5 separate regions of the Homo sapiens genome follow, and regions 1, 3, 4 and 5 are each linked to region 2. Evidence: promoter capture Hi-C in human tissues and cell types (Jung and others, 2019). All regions are on one chromosome and are shown on one strand. Each heading gives the region's core, a stretch centred on a gene start or on the middle of the fragment in contact. The rest is flanking DNA. Distances are from core to core; before and after follow the strand shown. Region 1 overlaps NR6A1 (nuclear receptor subfamily 6 group A member 1). Region 2 holds the start of PSMB7 (proteasome 20S subunit beta 7). Region 3 holds the start of MIR181A2HG (MIR181A2 host gene). Region 4 has its middle 47 kb from the start of NEK6. Region 5 overlaps NR6A1 (nuclear receptor subfamily 6 group A member 1).

Region 1 (3,806 bases), core at 936-3,435, 170 kb before region 2:
TAGGGCCTTGCTCTGCATTAGCTTTGGCTTAACAGAATGTTGTGATTGGTTTGCCTTTCCAGAATGTTGTGATTGGTTTGCCTTTCTATCCAGACTACTAAAACTTTGTCCATGTTAGCAATAAGGCTGTTTTTCTTTCTTATCATTTGTGTGTTCACTGGAGTAGCACTTTTAATTTCCTTCAAGAACTTTTCCTTTGCATTCACAGCTTGGCTCTTTGGAGCAAGAGGCCTAGCTTTCGGCTTATCTTTGCTTTTGACGTGCCTTCCTCATTAAGCTTAACGATTTCTAGCTTTTGATTTAAAGTGAGAGACGTGGCTCTTCCTTTCACTTGAACACATAGAGGCCTTTCTAGGGTTATTAACTGGCCTAATTTCAATGTTGTTGGGTTTCAGAGAATGGAGAGGCCCAAGGGGAGAGAAGGAGAGATGGGGGAATGGCTGGTCAGTGGAGCAGTCAGAACACATACAACATTTTTCGATTAAGTTCACCATCTTATTTCGGTGCGGTTCGTGGCACCCCCAAACAATTACTAACATCAAAGATCACTGATTACAGATGACCATAACAGATATAATAATATGAACAAGTTTGAAATATTACAAGACTTACCAAATGTGACACAGAGACACAAAGTGAGCACATGCTTTTGGAAAAAATGGTACTGATGAGACTTCCTTGATGCAGGGTTGCCACAAACCTTCAATTTGTAAAAAATGCAATAAAGTGGCTGGGCGCGGTGGCTCACACTGTAATCCCAGCACTTTGGGAGGCCGAGGAGGGCAGATCATGACGTCAGGAGATCGAGAGCATCCTGCCAACAAGGTGAAACCTCGTCTCTACTAAAAATTCAAAAATTAGCTGGGTGTGGTGGCATACGCCTGTAATCCCAGCTACTCGGGAGGCTGAGGCAGGAGAATCGCTTGAACGTGGGAGGTGGAGGTTGCAGTGAGCTGAGATGCTGAGATTGCGCCACCCACTGCACTCCAGCCTGGGTGACAGAGTGAGACTCTGTCTCAAAAAAAAAAAAAAAAAGCCAAGTGCAATAAAATGATGTATGCTCATGCACTGTTCTTTCATTCAACTGATGTTCACTAGTGATTGCTCTGTGCTTGGTATTGAGCTATGCATTAGGGATACAGAAAAAATAAGACTCTCTCCCTGCCCTGTGATATACCCAAGTCTAGCAGAGGGAAATAGATCCTCACATAAATAAGTGTAATGAAGTGTTCGGGGCATACTGATAGCAATACTGTAGAGTACAGAAGCTGTGCAGAGGGCAGAGTGCTCATTTGTGAGTACAGAAGTTGTGCAGAGGGCTATCAGGTTAGGCCTCACTCAGGAAGTCATCCTGAGAGACTGATAGATGTTTGCCAGGCTGGTGAAGTGGCAAAGGGTCTCCTAAGCAGAGGAGCAGCATGAGCACATGCCTGACAATGTGAAACAACCTGACCGAGTATGCCGTGAGTTCTAAGACTCATATAGGACAGAAGTATTGTTTGGTTCTAGATACAAGGGAAACCCTAGAGAGAACTTTGATCTGTGAGTGGATGCCCCTGCCCCTAAACAGAAGAGAGCCCCCCTCACATTCCTGTCAGTCTTCTTCTGAATATGTTGAAGAGATTAATGTACCTTGCTAGAAAGGAGCACAAGCACAGTTCTGCCTCAGAACTAGAGGCCTAGATGCTGGAGGTTTAACACTTCAAGAAACTGTCCTGGGATTTAGGGAGAGCATGCTATAGCCTTACTTAACCTTGTTACAAATTGCCAGGTACTACAGAGGGAGAGGCCTCGGTTAAGTGGTTGTAAGAAGTTATACTCTGTGAAGGAGTCATCTGTCCTCTAGGGGAGTGTTCCCAACAGAAAGGGAGTCTGTTGTATTTTCTTAATGAATGGAAAAATAGAGTCTGAATATCTTATCCAAACTTTTCCCACTAATTGAAAGGTTTCTTTTGGTTTTCTAGAGCAAGGGGTGGGTGTGGGTGTGGGTGGGTGGGTGCGTGATTTGCTGAGCAATCATTGTATTTTTACTTACATCTTGTGAAATGTTGATTACCTAATGGCCAAAGCATTATAATGTTTTTGGATAGATAATTTGGGGTGCTTTTGTTTTTAACTTCATTGTACAATTAGCATACAGAAAAATTGAGTGCTTTGGGGGGGAAGGGCGTACTCTTCTGTGAATATAGATTTGTGTAATCTCTGTAACCACCTCCACAGTGATGATACAAAACCATTTTCTTTCTTTTTTTCTTTAGAGAGATGGGGTCTTGTTCTTTTGCAGTATGCAATCTCAGCTCACTGCAACCTTGAACTCTTATGCTCAAACAATCCTTTTGCCTCAGCCTCCTGAGTAGCTGGGACTACAGGCACACACCACCATGCCCAGCTAATTTGTTTTCTTTTTAATAGAGATGAGGTCTCACTGTATTGGCCTGGCTGGTCTCAAATTCCTGGCCTCAAGCAGTCCTTCCACCTTGGCCTCCCAAAGTGCTAGGATTACAGGCATGGGCCACTCCACCTGGCCCAGAACCATTTCTTTTTTTTTTTTTAACTTTTAAGTTCAGGGGTACATGTGCAGGATGTGCTGGTTTGTTACATAGGTAAATGTGTGTCATGGAGGTTTGTTGTACAGATCATTTCATCACCCAGGTATTAAGCCTAGCATCCATTAGTTATTTTTCCTGATCCTCTCCCTCCTCCCACCCTCTGCCCTCTGGTAAGCCCCAGTGTGTGTTGTTCCCCTCTATGTGTCCGTGTGTTCTCATCATTTAGCTCCTCCTTATAAGTGGGAACATGCGGTATTTGGTTTTCTGTTCGCATGTTAGTTTGCTAAGGATAATGGCCCCCAGCTTCATCTGTGTCCTTGCAGATCTTGTTCTTTTTTATGGCTGACTAGTATTCCATGGTGTATATGTATCACATTTTCTTTATCCAGTCTATCACTGATGGACATTTAGTTTGTTTCTGTATCTTTGCTATTGTGAATAGTACTGCAATGAATGTACATGTACATATGTCTTTATAATAGAATGATTTATATTCCTTTGGTTATATACCCAGTAATGGGATTGCTGGGTCGAATGGTATTTCTGGTTCTTGGTCTTTGAGAAATCACCACAACATCTTCTACAATGGTTGAACTAATATTCACTCTCACCAAAAGTATAAAAGCATTCCTATTTCTCCACGGCCTCGCCAGCATCTGTTGTTTCTTCACTCTTTAATAATTGCCATTCTGACTGATGTGAGATGGTATCTCACTGTGGTTTTGATTTGCATTGCTCTAATGATCATTGATGTTGAGCTTTTTTTCATGTTTGTCGGCTCATAAATGTCTTCTTTTGAGAAGCGTCTGTTCATATCCTCGGCCCACTTTTTCAATGTGGTTGGTTTTTTTCTTGTAAATTTGATTAAATTCCTTGTAGATTCTGGATATCAGACCTTTGTCAGATGGATAGATTGCAAAAATTTTCTCCCATTCTGTAGGTTGTCTGTTTACTCTGATGATAGTTTCTTTTTGTTTGTTCGTTTGTTTTTTGAGACGGAGTCTTGCTCTGTCTCCAGGCTGGAGTGCAATGGCGTGATCTCGGCTCACTGCAACCTCCCCCTCCTGGGTTCAAGTGATTCTCCTGTGTCAGCCTCCCGAGTAGCTGGGACTACAGGCATGCACCACCATGCCCAGCTAATTTTTCTATTTTTAGTAGAGACGGGGTTTCACCATGTTGGCCAGATGGTCTCGATCTCTTGACCTCGTGATCCGCCTGCCTCGGCCTACCAAAGTGCTGGGATTACAAGCGTGAGCC
Region 2 (3,372 bases), core at 708-3,207:
AAAATAAAATTCACCTAACGTAGAAGTCACCATTTTAACCATTTTAAAGTGTGCAACTCAGTGGTTTTTAGTGTATTCATAATATCGTGCAACCAATACCACTATGTAATTCCAGAATATTTTCATCATTTTCCAAAAACTCTGCGCCCACTAAACAGTCCTATCCATTCTCTCCTCCTCCCCTAACCCTTAGCAACCAAACATCTACTTTCTGTCTGTGGATTTGCCTATTAAGAACACTTCACATACATGGAATGATACACTATGTGGCCTTTTGTGCCTGGCTTCTTTCCCTCAGTATATTTTTAAGGTCCATCCCTGTTGTAACATGTATCTGTGCTTCAGACTTCTTTATGGTCTAATAATATTCCATTAAATGAATTTACCATATTTTGTTTATCCATTCATCAGTGGATGGACATTTGTTTCCATTATTTGGCTATTGTGAATAATGAGACCCCCCCCTCGCTTTTTTTTTTGAGACGGAGTCTCTGCTCTGTTGCCCAGGCTGGAGTGCAGTGGCGTGATCTCAGCTCACTGCAACTTCTGCCTCCCTGGTTCGAGCTATTCTCCTGCCTCGGCCTCCTGACTAGCTGGGACTACAGGTGCCCACCACCACGTCTGGCTAAGTTTTTGTATTTTTAGTAAAGACGGAGTTTCACCGTGTTAGCCAGGATGGTCTCAATCTCCTGACCTCATGATCCGCCCACCTCGGCCTCCCAAAGTGCTGGGATTACAGGCGTGAGACACCGCGCCCAGCCAATGAGACCCCTTTTGACGCAGGGCAGGTAAGCCCCAAAGTGCGGCTGAGCCCACAAGGGTTCTTGGCTTTGCCCAAGAAAGAATTCAAGGGCAAGTTAGAGGCAGAAGAAAACGGCTTTATTGAAGTGGCGGCGTTACAGCTCCATGACTGCTCCTGCAGAGCAGGGTTACCCTCTTAGGCAGAGTGTCAGGGCAGTTTTGCTGTCATATTTATACACACTTTTAATTACATGCAGATTAAGGGGTGGTTTATGCAGGCATTTCTAGGGAAGGGGTAGTAACTTTTGGTTTATGGTGCCACTGCCATGGAAAGGGGCGGTAACTCACGAGTGTTGCCATGGCAACGGTAAACTGACTTGGCTGGCTGGTGAGCGAGTCTTAGGGAAGACAGCTTCCGTCCAGGCCCTGTTTTAGCTAGTCCTCAATTTGGTCAGGTATCTCAGCCCCATCTCTGAATGGAGGCCTGCCTTCTACCTCACCTTTGTAGAAGTTTTTGTGAATACATGTCTTCAACCCTCTCGGGTGCGTATCTAAGAGGATAATACTTTTTGGGGAACTGCCAAATTGTTTTCCGGAGCAGCCGCACCGTTTTGCATTCTCACCAGCCGTGTATTCGGGTTCCAATTTCTCCACACTCTCGCAACCCTTGCGCTTTTCTGTCTTTTTGTTTATGGCCATCCTAGCGGGTGCGAAGTGGGATCTCACTGTGGTCGTGCTTTGCATTCACCCTATGACTAATCATGTTGAGCCTCTTTTCACAGACTTAATGGCCATTCTACAGCAGCCTTTTGAGCTAGGTTGTAATCTCCATCTGATAGCGGAGGAAACAGATTCAGAGAGTTGAAGAGACTTGCTTAACGCAAGGGGGTGGTGGGGCTGTGCCTGGGACTTGGGTCTGTCTGTCTCTGAAGCACCGCAGAACCAAATTAACGGTAGAAACAAGTCCAGTCTGAGCGGCAGGAGACCTGGTCGCTGGTGCGTTCACCTTGGACAAGTCCTTTCCCGGTTCCGGGTGTCACTTTCTCCTCCGTGCCACTTGGGGCGATATACTTCAAACATCTCTGGCCTCTCTAGGAACCAGAATCTCTAAGATCAATCGTTCTAGTGCGGCGTTTGCCCCGCCCCTTCAGCCCCCGTTGCCAGCGACGCCGGAAGTGCTCGGCTCTTTTTGTTTGCACCCGCCTCCGACCCGGAACTGCTTTCTTGGGAAGATGGCGGCTGTGTCGGTGTATGCTCCACCAGTTGGAGGCTTCTCTTTTGATAACTGCCGCAGGTGCCGCCTTGCTTGGGGCTTGGTTCAGGGAGGGAGAAGAGTGCGGTGCTCGGGTGGGAGCTGGGCCAAGGTGTGATACGAGAATTCTGAGGGAAGAATTCATGGCGGGGCCTGTGGCCCGCGGCTAGTGTGACTCAGGGGAATCAGGGCCTGGGCGTGGGTTTCTCCTGAAGCCGGGTCTGCTCTCCCACCTTCCCAGCGCACTCGGCCACCGTTTATCTCCGTCTCCTAAGGCACGTCACGGCCCCTTTGTAAGACTGTCTTCGTTGGAAAACGGGAGAACAGTGCTGATGGTGGGAGGATTCATTAAACAGATGGGCGTGAAAACAAGTAGCAGCTTTCCTGAGTTCTCTGTTAGGCACTTTTCATGCCAGTGCTGTGCGATGTGGTCCTGCCCTTCAACACTTGATTCTCTCATTTGCTCTTAGGAATGCCGTCTTGGAAGCCGATTTTGCAAAGAGGGGATACAAGCTTCCAAAGGTCCGGAAAACTGGCACGACCATCGCTGGGGTGGTCTATAAGGTAAGCCGGGTTAGGCTAAGAGCAGCAGTGACTGAACCGGCAACAGGAATCAGAACACTTGGCTTCCGGTGTCTCTCCCGGCTCGGTCTGGAAAGGCAAATGCTATAGAATACATCAGGAGACCGTCTTTCAGGAGCGACTGCTTTTGTCAGGTTTTGTGTGCTTCTTAACAGTTTATGTTCTTTCCTCACTTTGCTGAGGTTTTTTCTTTCTTTCTTTTTTTTTTTTTTAAACAGGTCAGTTAGCTTCTTAATTACTAGTTTAGGAAGCTGAAGTATGTGATGGGAGATCACGAGATTTGGGGTCAGACAGGTCTGTCTCACCTTTGAACTCTATAGTGCTGATTCCAACTTCTGGCAGCTCACTTTCCTTCTCACAGGGACACCTTCAGATGCATCAAATGGAGATAACTCCTGCCTTAAATTGTTGGAAACGTCAAAAGGGATAATGATTACCTGTGCAACATGTTTTAAAGAAAAGCAACATGTTTTAAAAGGAAATTGATAGTGATGGCTAATTTAATGGAAAGATTCCTGAGTCTTAATCCAGGTTTTTTCCAGATTAGCTCTGATTTACAAGGAATTTACCCGACACCTGAGCCTCACTTGAAAATGGGAATAATTCTTACCTACTCAGGATTCAATTAGTAGCATTTACTAAGAAACCTTTTCTTAAATCCTGAAAGTGTAGCACAATATTTTTGCTATGAGTTTTGGCTGGCGTTTTGAGATTAGGGGAGCATGTGGTATGGCCAACATAGTATTCCCTAAAGTAGAATAGAGAGTTGCGGTTGGCTTATATTTGTAAAATTGTTT
Region 3 (3,672 bases), core at 632-3,131, 240 kb before region 2:
TTTTCTACCTTACATTTATTATAGCATAGTTATCTTTATAGCATAGATGCAGAAAGTAAGAGAGAGCTTGTTTTTTCAAGAAAACAACCCTTTAAAATACTTTCCAACCCATGAAGGGAAAAATCCTCCTTTTTTCCCCCAAGTGCATTCTACTTATTACTTTGCATTTTTCTCCCAAAGTCCAAATTTATGCAAAGAAAATAGAAACAAGTTCAAATGCAATGCATTAACCAAATAAAACAAGTCTGCTTCAAATTAGGAACCAACCTAAGCATTTGTAAAGTGTAGCAGAATCAGAATTCTTTTAAAAATTAGATTTGGAACCTGAACTATATAATTCATAATTCTCATTTTTCTGTGGAAAATTATTTTATCTTTCTCCTGTATACCTGAAAAAATGTCCATAGGCTTAAAGGGTCATGCTTTTACATTCCTTCCATATCACAGGTACTATGAAGTAAGGAGACTTTTAGGTTTCTTTTTGTCTTAAACTCAGACAGCTTTGTAAGCAGTAGTGTGTAGATTACAAGAGTTAGACAAAAGCAGGCGCGACTGAGAAGAGTTGGTGGGGGAGAAGCTTGGGGCACTTCCTGTCACTCAACACATTCCAGATCACTAAAAAATTTCCACACCCTCTGCATTCCCCCTTGCCCACTCCAGTTCCCGGTATTTTCTGATTCCATATGTTGTGGTATTTACCATACTTCTCTCCCTCACTAGGCTCTGGCAAGACTGCTTCAGAGGGGATGCATTCCTTTAGATTGCACAAAGCGGAGCTGGGAAAATGGCTGGCAGTTTCAGAATCTAGTCACGATCGCACGCATGAGCACCTCACACATCCATGTCCCTACCCGCCCCCCCGCTCCCGCCCCTGCAGCTGGCTGACCTGTCTCACCCACTGCTGGCCTATCGAACGGCCAGGACTGTCTGGTTTTGGCTCGTGCCTTTGTCCATGTCTGGCTTAGTTCCTCTCTGTCTATGCTTGCCTCTACCCCCACCGCCCCAGGCGGCACAAGTGTTTGGCCACACAAAACTAGAGATAGAAAAGGTGGTAAAAACTTCAAACTTTTCTAAATTCTCCAACAGTTTATTTCTTGTGAATTTCTTCCTTCTTTAAATACTCCATTTTAAGAAAACAAAAAAATTAATTATCTAAAGGCAAAGAATGGAAAGCAACCTTTGTGTTCCTTATAATAACTGACTTCATAACTCTCTCCAGCTGCGTTATGGGATGTGTATAAAAAGCTTCTGTTCTGAGAACAAAGGAGCACGTGCAGAAATGAGACGAAAAAATCCACTGACAGTATTCCATTACACAAATTACTTAAAAGATTTTAGTCAAGCCCCTCAACAGATTCAATTTTAAAATGGCTTTTAGTTAAAAAAAAAAAATTGAAAGTGCTTACCCAGTAAAAGAACCGAAGTAGTCCTGAACTGTTACGTAAGACTTTTTACAGTTGGATCTTTGTCAAAAGGGGATGGGGGTGATGGGAGAAAGCAGCAACGACAATCAAAAAAGTTCGAGCTGCTGTGGCTAGAGGACAACTTCTGTGTTTCCAGATAGGATTCTTGCTGTAGAAATGGAACTTCCAGCCAGCACAGCATCCTGTCCCAGTAGAGAAATGAGTTTGTCAGTTAAAACAAAAAAAAAATTAGATACTGGAACCCAGGCTAGACGAGGTATTGAACCGCGCCAGATTTCCTTGCAGCCCTGTCTGCTCAGCTCGCATTGAACTATATATGACCCAGATGATGGACAGAAGCACATTTAGTCATGTGCACACTGGAAGAAAGCGGATTTGCTGGTCCCTGGCAGTGCAGGGGTTTGTCTTCTGATTGGGCTGTGCCCTGATCGGTGAAATGTGAAGCCCTCACCATTCAGAGGCCGTAATTCAGGACTGGCAGTTTGAGTGTCTGGCTGCCTCTAGTCACTGAGAGACTTTGAAGGTGTTGCTTTTGTTTGGTGGCATTACCCACCCAGAGGTTGCTTACACCTCTCTACTTGTGTCAGAAGAAATACTAGTCTTTCTGAAATACAAATAGGCAGCCGATTTTTCCTGAATCCTAAATCACCCTATTGTTGATAAACTTGGCTCTAACTGAAACCAATTATTTGATTTGAAAATTTATTGTGATCCTAACCAAGCTTCATATCCAGACCAACCCTTGGTCTTGATTTTATAGGTTTGATAAGGTAAAAATAAAAGTGGCATATTTGACTTTGAAGCCTCTATATGATATAAATTGCTCTTAATGAAAATTGGATAGATGGACAACAGAGAAGTGAAGTTTTAGATTCTGGAGTGTTTGGATGTATGAGGAAGAAGCTTTATGTCTTTTTATCCCCTTTGTGAGACTGTCACTCTTGTCCCAGTCCTAGTCACATTAGGGGTTGCTGGGGGGGGGAAGCTATGAAAGCATGGACCCTACTGAGCTGTGACATAGCCTTTAATCATGCAAGACAGCCACGGTCTGCTCTCTTCAGTCTGTCTGAACTAGGGTCCTTGGGGTTTATTTTCCATCTTTCTGAGCCACTGGGAAACCAGGTCATTATACAGGACTGTCATTTGTGACATTTTTGTTTAGTACATGGCAGTTGCTTTGTTTATTTAATGCAAGTTGACACTTCTTTAAAGTTTCAAAACAGTAAAGTTGTTTTGTGAGACCTTGACTCTGATATATGAAATCTACTCTACATGGACCAATCATTTTTTTCCGTGGACTTTCTTGTCTCTTTAGAAATTAGCTTATAGAGTCCTAAATTGATACTTAAACATACCAATAGTTCTGTTTATTTCTTGCCTTTCTCACAGTTGTTGAAATAATTCCATCTGTCTCTTTTGCTGTAAATTTTGGGTTTGGATGTTTGTACTTGGAATTTTTTAGATGTTGACTATATTATGCAGCACCTTCCATATGAGGACTACCCCAGAATTATTCTCTTGTCTTAACCCGAGAAAAGCTGTTTTGATGCACTATTAGATATAAGAATGTTCGAAAGAAGAGGAGATGAGCACTCTCTTGCTTTTTGTAAGCCACAAGACAATCTTTTTTTTTTCTAAGTTGTGGTAAGGTATATGTAACATAAAATTGACTGTTGTAATAATTTTTAAGTGTATAGTTCTGTGGTGTTAAGTGCATTCACGTTGTTTTGCAGCCTTCACCACCATCCATCCACCACAGAACTCTTCTCCTCTTGCAAAACTGAAATTCTCTACCTACCTGTTAAACACTAACTTGCCATTCTTCCCTCCCCCAGGCCCTGGGGACAACCATCATTCTACTTTCTCTTTGATTTTTTGTTTTTTGTTTTTGGAGACGGAATTTTACTCTTGTTGCCCAAGCTGGGATGCAATGGCACTGTCTTGGCTCACTGCAACTTCCGCCTCCTGGGTTCAAGCAATTCTCCTTCCTCAGCCTCCTGAGTAGCTGGGACTACAGGTGCCCACCACCACGCCTGGCTAGTTTTTGTATTTTTAGTAGACACGGGGTTTCACCATGTTGGCCAGGCTGGTCTCGAACTCGTGATCTCAAGTGATCCACCCACCTTGGCCTCCCAAAATCCTAGAATTACAGGCATGAGCCCACCGTGCCTAGCCTCTGTCTGTTTGCTTTTTGACTACTCTAGATACCTCATATAAGTGGAATAATACAAGATGTGTTCCCTTTTGA
Region 4 (3,270 bases), core at 466-2,965, 200 kb after region 2:
ACTGGTTTGTTATGTCAAAGGGAGAAAAGGAGCAACAAAAAAAATGATTAGAAAAGAAAGCCGGAAATAATCTCTCTGCCCCAACTCTCAGTCGTGCACATTTCTGTAAATCTGAAAGCTTGGATTGGCATCCTGGCCATGCCAGTTCACAGATATGTGACCATGGGCAAGTTTTTTTTCACCTCCTTGAGCCTCAGTTTGCTCCTCAGTAATTTGGGGATAACAGCGTCTGTTTTCAGGGTTATTGTGGGTTTGTTTGTTTGTTTGTTTGAGTCAGAGTCTTGCTCTGTCACCCAGGCTGGAGTGCAGTGGCATGATCTTGGCTCACTGCAGCCTCCGTCACCTGGGTTCAAGCGATTCTCCTGCCTCAGCCTCCGGTGTAGCTGGGACTACAAGTGTGCACCACCATGCCTGGGTAATTTTTTTGTATTTTCAGTAGAGACAGGGTTTCATTATGTTGGCCAGGCCGGTCTCGAACTCCTGACCTCATGTGATCCACCCGCCTTGGCCTCCCAAAGTGCCAAGATTACAGGCATGAGCCACTGTGCCTGGCTGTATTGTGGGCTGTTATTAAATAAGGTAACAGACATAGAGTGTTGGGCCTGGCTCCTGCCGCACTCCAGGTGCTTGATGCGGTTGATGAAATAAAGTCAGACAGAGGCCCGGCAATCACACTCCTTGTGTTTACCCAAATGACTTGAAAACTTATGTGCACACAAAAACCTGCACACAAATATTTATAGCAGCTTCATTTATAATTGGCAAGATGTGGGAAGAACCAAGATGTCCTTCAATAGGTGAGTGGATAAACAAACTGTGGCCCATCCAGACAATGGAATATTATCCCGTAATGAAAAGAAACAGACTGTAGGAATGAGGAGTTATGGTTTAATGGTTATGGATTTCGGTTTGGGTGATGGATGGTGGCACGACAATTTGAATGTACTTCATGCCACTTCAAAATGGTTAAAATGAAGCCGGGTGTGGTGGCTCACGCCTGTAATCCCAGCACTTTGGGAGGCCGAGGCAAGTGGATCACTTGAGGTCAGGAGTTTGAGAGCAGCCTGGCTAACATGGTGAAACCCCGTCTCTATTAAAAATACAAAAATTAGCTGGGCATGGAGGTGGGCACCTGTAATCCCAGCTACTTGGCAGGAGAATCATTTGAACCTGGTAGGCAGATTTTGCAGTGAGTCGAGATCACGCCATTGCACTCCAGCCTGGGCCACAGAGTTAGACTCTGTCTCAGTGAAAAATTTTGTGTTTTGTATATTTTACCACAATAAAAAAAAGAAGTGAACTATTAAGTCATGAAAGAGCATGGAGGAGCTTTAAATGCATATTACTGGGTGAAAGAAGCCAGTCTGATTAGGCAACATACTGTATGATTCCAACTATATGGCACTCTGGAAAAGGCAAAACTATTAAAACAGTAAGAAAAAAAAAAAGACCGGTGATTGCCAGAAGCTGGGGGTGGAGGAAGGGAGGGGAGATGACGAGGTGGAATACAGGGGATTTTGGGGCAGTGAATCTATTTTGCATGATGCTGTTACGGTGGGTGCTTGTCATTATATGTTAGTCATTGTACATTAAATGTGTATACATGAGTCATCATGCATTATACATTTGTGTTGTGCATTCTATAGTGAATCCCAGTGTGAACTATGGACTTTAGTCAATAATAATGTGTTAATACTGCTCACCAATTGTAACAGATGTACTACAGTAATTCAAGATGTTCATCATAGGTGAAATAATGGGGTTGGAGGTGGTGGGGTATATGGGAATTTTCTGTGCTTTCTGCTTCTTTTGCTGTAAACAAAAAAACTGCTCTAAAAAAAGTAAAGTGTTTAAAAATAAAAATTAAAGTGAAAAAATGAAAAATGAAAGCTCTAAAACTTAATAAAAAATAAATAAAATGGGCCAGGCACAATGGCTCACATCTGGAATCCCAGCACTTTGGGAGGCCAAGGCAGGTAGATCACCTGAGGTCAGGAGTTGGAGACCAGCCTGGCCAACATGGTGAAACCCCATCTCTACTAAAAATACAAAAATTAGCTGGGTGTAGTGGCGGGCACCTGTAATCCCAACTACTCGGGAGGCTGAGGCAGAATTGCTTGAACCTGGGAGGTGGAGGTTGCAGTGAGCTGGGATCACGCCACTGCACTCCAGCCTGGGCGACAGAGTGGGACTCCATCTCAGAAAATAAAACTAAAAATAAAATGGACATCAACACTGGCCTTCCCTTAGCATTTAAAACCATGAGCAGGGCTGGACATCTTAGTAATTATTCGCCCAGTGGTTTCCAAACACTTTGAAATTTTTTTCCAAGCGTAAATTTATGGTGTCCCCCTCCACCCCCAAGACACTTCAAAAGCTCATTATGACCAGAGCAAACTAGATGAAACCAGCAAACAGGTTTGGAAGTGACTCCAGCTCCATCCTGTCATGGGGTCTCTCTAACTGGGCCCGTTCTCAACTCTCTGGGTTGGCCTGATTTTAGCCACAATGGATCACTGAAATCCATCTGAGCTCAGTGAACTGGTCAACTGATCTAGCTGATTCAAACCATTTGAAGCTGGCAGTGGCTGGTTGTATTTGTCCTAATTCAGCTCAAACCAGTTTGAACTGGCTGAAATTAGGCCCAAACTAAGAATCAAGAAGTGCATCCCCAAAACAAAGCCTCAAAAGGAAGAGAGGCTGAGATTCCATTCGGAGTGATAGAACAGGGGGTCTCGGTGGCTGGGGCCGGAATAGCCTAGTTTGAACAGATGAGTGTTCTGCTGCTGAGGCTGGAGAGAAGTGGAGGGCCTGGAGCCCCTTACCTCCTGCCTTTACTCCTACAGGGCCTCCCGGGAGCCCTAGGACTCCGTTCAGAGGAATAGAGGCAATAGGGTTGGGCTAACGAAAGGAAGATGGGAGGTGAGGAGTCAGAGGCAGCTCTACAAAGATAATGGGAGGAGGAAGGGAGGGGAAGGGCCCAAGGTGGGAGGAGTTTTCAAGATGCAACACCCCGGAGCAGGTCTGTGGGCTAACAGGAGAGGGAGGTACTGATCAGGAACACACAATAGGATTCAAGCCCTTAAAAAGGCAAGAAGCGGGGTGGATGCAGCGGCTCACTCCTGTAATCCCAGCACTTCAGGAAGCTGAGGTGGGCGGATCAGGTGGTCAGGAGTTCAAGACTGGTAGAGACAGTCTCTACCAAAAATACAAAAATTGTCCGGACGTGGTGGCATGCGCTCATAGTCCCAGTTACTTGGGAGGCTGAGG
Region 5 (3,458 bases), core at 959-3,458, 140 kb before region 2:
TGTTTAACCATTTTGGAGCTTCCACTTAATCATTTACAAAAGGGTGATAACAATTGTACTCACCTATGTATGGGGTTTTGAGGATTACATGAGTCAGTGAAGTAAAGCCTACCTAGTTGTGGTGGGTGTTCAGTGAAATCGTATCAGTGAAGAAAGGAAGGTGTGTCCTTGTGGATATATTCATTATAACTGTTTTTAAGTCTATTCTAATAAGGCTCTGGTTTACATTATAGTCATATCTAAAAGAACACTGAAGGTTTTAAAATTAGAAAATTTAGATTCTTCCATAGCCAATCATGGTTTCCCAACAGTGTTCCATGTTCCATTTCCAGGCCTTTTCAGCACTCTAGGAAATCCCATCTCAAACATAGTGGGTGCTATTTTTATGCTATTCATTTTGCCTGTTTGGCCTTACCTGTTTTAATTTTTAAAATTTGCTATTGTAACTTTTCTGTAGTGTTTACCTTGAGCTTTCTTTATGTTTTCAAAAGGAAAATAAAAGGAATACTGATCACACCAGGGCCATTTTTATAGGGTATCTTTTTTTTCTTAATAGGGCTTTTTGTATTTTGTTTGTGTTGCAAACAACAGAAACTCACTTAAGTTAGCTTAAGAAAGAAAAGAAGGAGGATTGGCCGGGCGCGGTGGCCCACTCCTGTCATCCCAGAACTTTGGGAGGCCGAGGTGGGTGGATCACGAGGTCAGGAGTTCAAGACCAGCCTGGCCAACATGGTGAAACCCCATCTCTACTGAAAATACAAAAATTAGCCAGGCATGGTGGCACGTTCCTGTAATCCCAGCTACTCGGGAGGCTGAGGCAGGATCATTACTTGAACCGGGACCTGGGAGGCAGAGGTTGCAGTGAGCCAAGATCGCGCTACTGCACTCCAGCCTGGGCTACAGAGTGAGATCCGTCTCAAAAAAAGAAAAAAGGAGGATTGTATTACAATAACGTGGTTATGTCAATTTGTCACTGTGCTGTTTTCTCAAAGGAAGTGTATCCAAGCCTTAGAAAAGTCTGTAACCAAGAACTGTAGAGTCCTCAAGAACCTAGGCAGTCTTTCCATATCTGTCGTTCTCCATTTCCCTGGTTGTATAATCTCATGTATGTACTTGTCTGTGAGTACCTGCTGTTTGCCAGCTGACTTGAGACAAGTCTTAATATTGCCTGTTTCCCTGTTTGCGAAAAAAAAAAAAAGGTATATTAGTTTCCTGTGCTGCTGTAACAAATTACCACAAACTCAGTGCCTGAAAACAACAAAAATTTACTCTCTTACTGGAAGAGAAGCCATAAATCCAAAATCAGGTCGGGCGTGGTGGCTCACACCTCTAATCCCAGCACTTTGGGAGGCCAAGGTGTGCAGATCACTTGAGGTCAGGAATTCAAGACCAGCCTGGCCAAGATGGTAAAACCCCGTCTCTACTAAAAATACAAAAATTAGCAGGGCATGGTGGCAGGCACCTGTAATCCCAGCTACTTGGGAGGCTGAGGCAGGATAATTGCTTGAACCTAGGAGGCGGAGGTTGCAGTGAACCGAGATTGAACCACTGCACTCCAGCCTGGGTGACAGAGCAAGACTCCCTTTCAAAAAAAAAAAAAAAAAATCAGTATCCCTGGGCTGAAATGAAAGTGTTTGCAGAGCCACACTCCTTTCAGAAGCTCTAGGGGAGAATCGGTTCCTTGCCTCTTCCAACTTCTGGTGACTGCCGTCATTCCTTGGTTGGTGGCCAGTTTCTGCCTCTGTCTTCGTATCACCTTCTCTTTTGCATGTGATGTGTTTCTTCTTCTCTACTATCTTTATCAGATCTTCCTCTGCCTCTGTCTTACGAAGACACTTGTGATTGTATTTCGGGCCCACCCATATAATTCAGAATAACCCCCTACCGCAAGATTCTTAATTCAATCACATCTACAAATACCCTTTTTCCTTTATAAGGTAGCATTTTACAGGTTCCAAGGATTAGGACCTGATATCTATGGGTCGCAGTTATTCTGCTTACTATAGATGGCAATCATAAAGACTCATCTCAAAGTTGGCATATATTAAGGGCTCCAGAAATGCAAGCCACCTCCTTTCTCTGCATCCCTCCTGTATATACTACCATGACCCTCTGCTAACATTGCCTTCGAAAGCTTTTCCTTTCAGGAATGTCATTATCACATTAAATGTGTACCTGCTGGGGTAATAATAATGAAAATAATAGCTGACAGTTATCAAATGTCTATTATAGCCCACACACTGCAATGAGAACTTTATCCATGGGATATAGGTATTATTATAATCACCATTTAACAGATGAGAGAAATTAGAAAAGTAAAGAAGGTCAATTTTTCCCTAGTTCACCCAGCTAGTTTCAGAGCTAGGGTTCAAATTAGAATCTCTCTAATTATAAGCGGTCTCTAATTCATGGTATAATGATGTGCCTTTGTTTTTGTTTATTTGTTTTTTAAGAGATATGGTCTTGCCGTCGCTCAGGCTGGAATGCAGTGGTGCAATCATAGCTCACTGCAGCCTCAAACTCCTAGGCTCAAGCAGTCCTCCTGCTTCAGCCTCCTCAGTAGATGAGACTACAGGTGTGTGCCATCACGCCTGGCTCTATAACGATGTTCTTGATTATTATACCTTCCCTCTTACTCAGGAGTGAGGTTGAAATATCTGATTTCTTGTCTTGGCCTCTGATCGGAACCTTCCCTGGTGATTTCTTGTACCTGCTGGCATAGCTTCACATCACAGTTCACAGGGTGCTTTTTTGTCGTGTGCCTGCTCTTTAGCAGTTGCTTGGTCCTGAGTAAATGCAGTTTAAAGGAAGAGGAAGTGAAGAGCTATATTCTATCCTGAATTTCCTCCTTGAGTAACTTGTTTATTGCTCGTCAGTGAGTTCCATGACTCTGGGGATCATGATGATTTATTTATGTCCTAGCACAGGGCCTGGACACAGAATAGATACTCTGCTAGAGTGTAAGCTTCACCAGGGGCTTCTGTTCACTGCTGTATTTGTGCCTTACAGCAGTTCCCAGGATAGAAGAGTTGCACAGTAAATATTTATTGGCTGGATGTCTGGCTGACCGGCTTAGCTCGGTATGGTTAGAACTCAATTACAGCTGTCATTTATTGGCTGTATATCATGTGTTAGGCCCTTACATATATGGTAAGTAATCCTTACCGTGCTCCTACAGGGTAGAATTGATGGGTTATAGATGAGCAGGGTAAGGGTGATAGAGGAGTCAAAGATTCTTTCTAGGTTTCAGTCTTAGATACTGATCCAAGTGTTGATGAAACCCAGGAGGAAGAGTTTAGGTAGACTGTGTTGTGGTATCTGCAACCACAGATACAGGGACTACTCTTGGGACAAGGATCCGAAGATGGGCCCCCTGTTTGCCCTTTAGCCTGGAGATAGTGGTGGTCTTAATCTACCCAGAGCAGAGTTGCTCACTTTAGGAACTGTAGGCTTAAAGC

Evidence for each region. The method cuts DNA at HindIII sites, captures the fragments that hold promoters and counts their contacts. A contact is called where the count stands out against the background at its distance.
Region 1: a fragment that was not itself captured here is called in contact with the fragment with the promoter of PSMB7 in region 2 in 1 of the 25 tissues and cell types used here (mesenchymal stem cells).
Region 3: a contact is called between a fragment that was not itself captured here and the fragment with the promoter of PSMB7 in region 2, in 4 of the 25 tissues and cell types used here (adrenal gland, aorta, dorsolateral prefrontal cortex and 1 more).
Region 4: a fragment that was not itself captured here is called in contact with the fragment with the promoter of PSMB7 in region 2 in 1 of the 25 tissues and cell types used here (spleen).
Region 5: a contact is called between a fragment that was not itself captured here and the fragment with the promoter of PSMB7 in region 2, in 1 of the 25 tissues and cell types used here (spleen).

Annotation. Positions count from the first base shown.
Region 1 is chr9:124,581,326-124,585,131 of GRCh38, reverse strand. The region is part of intron 2 of NR6A1 (nuclear receptor subfamily 6 group A member 1); the gene reads left to right. Among named protein-coding and RNA genes, the nearest start is that of MIR181A2HG, 75 kb to the left of the region's middle. The HindIII fragment of the contact is 4,440 bases long and covers 1-3,806 here.
Region 2 is chr9:124,414,027-124,417,398 of GRCh38, reverse strand. It overlaps PSMB7 (proteasome 20S subunit beta 7), which reads left to right and starts at 1,957. Exons shown (of 8, transcript NM_002799.4): 1 at 1,957-2,035; 2 at 2,464-2,557. The coding sequence starts at 1,974. RefSeq lists an enhancer at 2,001-2,050. The HindIII fragment of the contact is 5,075 bases long and covers 1-3,222 here.
Region 3 is chr9:124,656,476-124,660,147 of GRCh38, reverse strand. The region is part of intron 2 of NR6A1 (nuclear receptor subfamily 6 group A member 1); the gene reads left to right. MIR181A2HG (MIR181A2 host gene) reads right to left here and starts at 1,712. Exons shown (of 2, transcript NR_038975.1): 1 at 1,407-1,712. RefSeq lists enhancers at 675-724, 1,546-1,665. The HindIII fragment of the contact is 3,606 bases long and covers 79-3,672 here.
Region 4 is chr9:124,209,209-124,212,478 of GRCh38, reverse strand. No RefSeq gene overlaps it. Among named protein-coding and RNA genes, the nearest start is that of NEK6, 47 kb to the left of the region's middle. The HindIII fragment of the contact is 6,047 bases long and covers 1-3,270 here.
Region 5 is chr9:124,554,608-124,558,065 of GRCh38, reverse strand. All of the region lies in intron 2 of NR6A1 (nuclear receptor subfamily 6 group A member 1), which reads left to right. Among named protein-coding and RNA genes, the nearest start is that of NR5A1, 49 kb to the right of the region's middle. The HindIII fragment of the contact is 3,599 bases long and covers 409-3,458 here.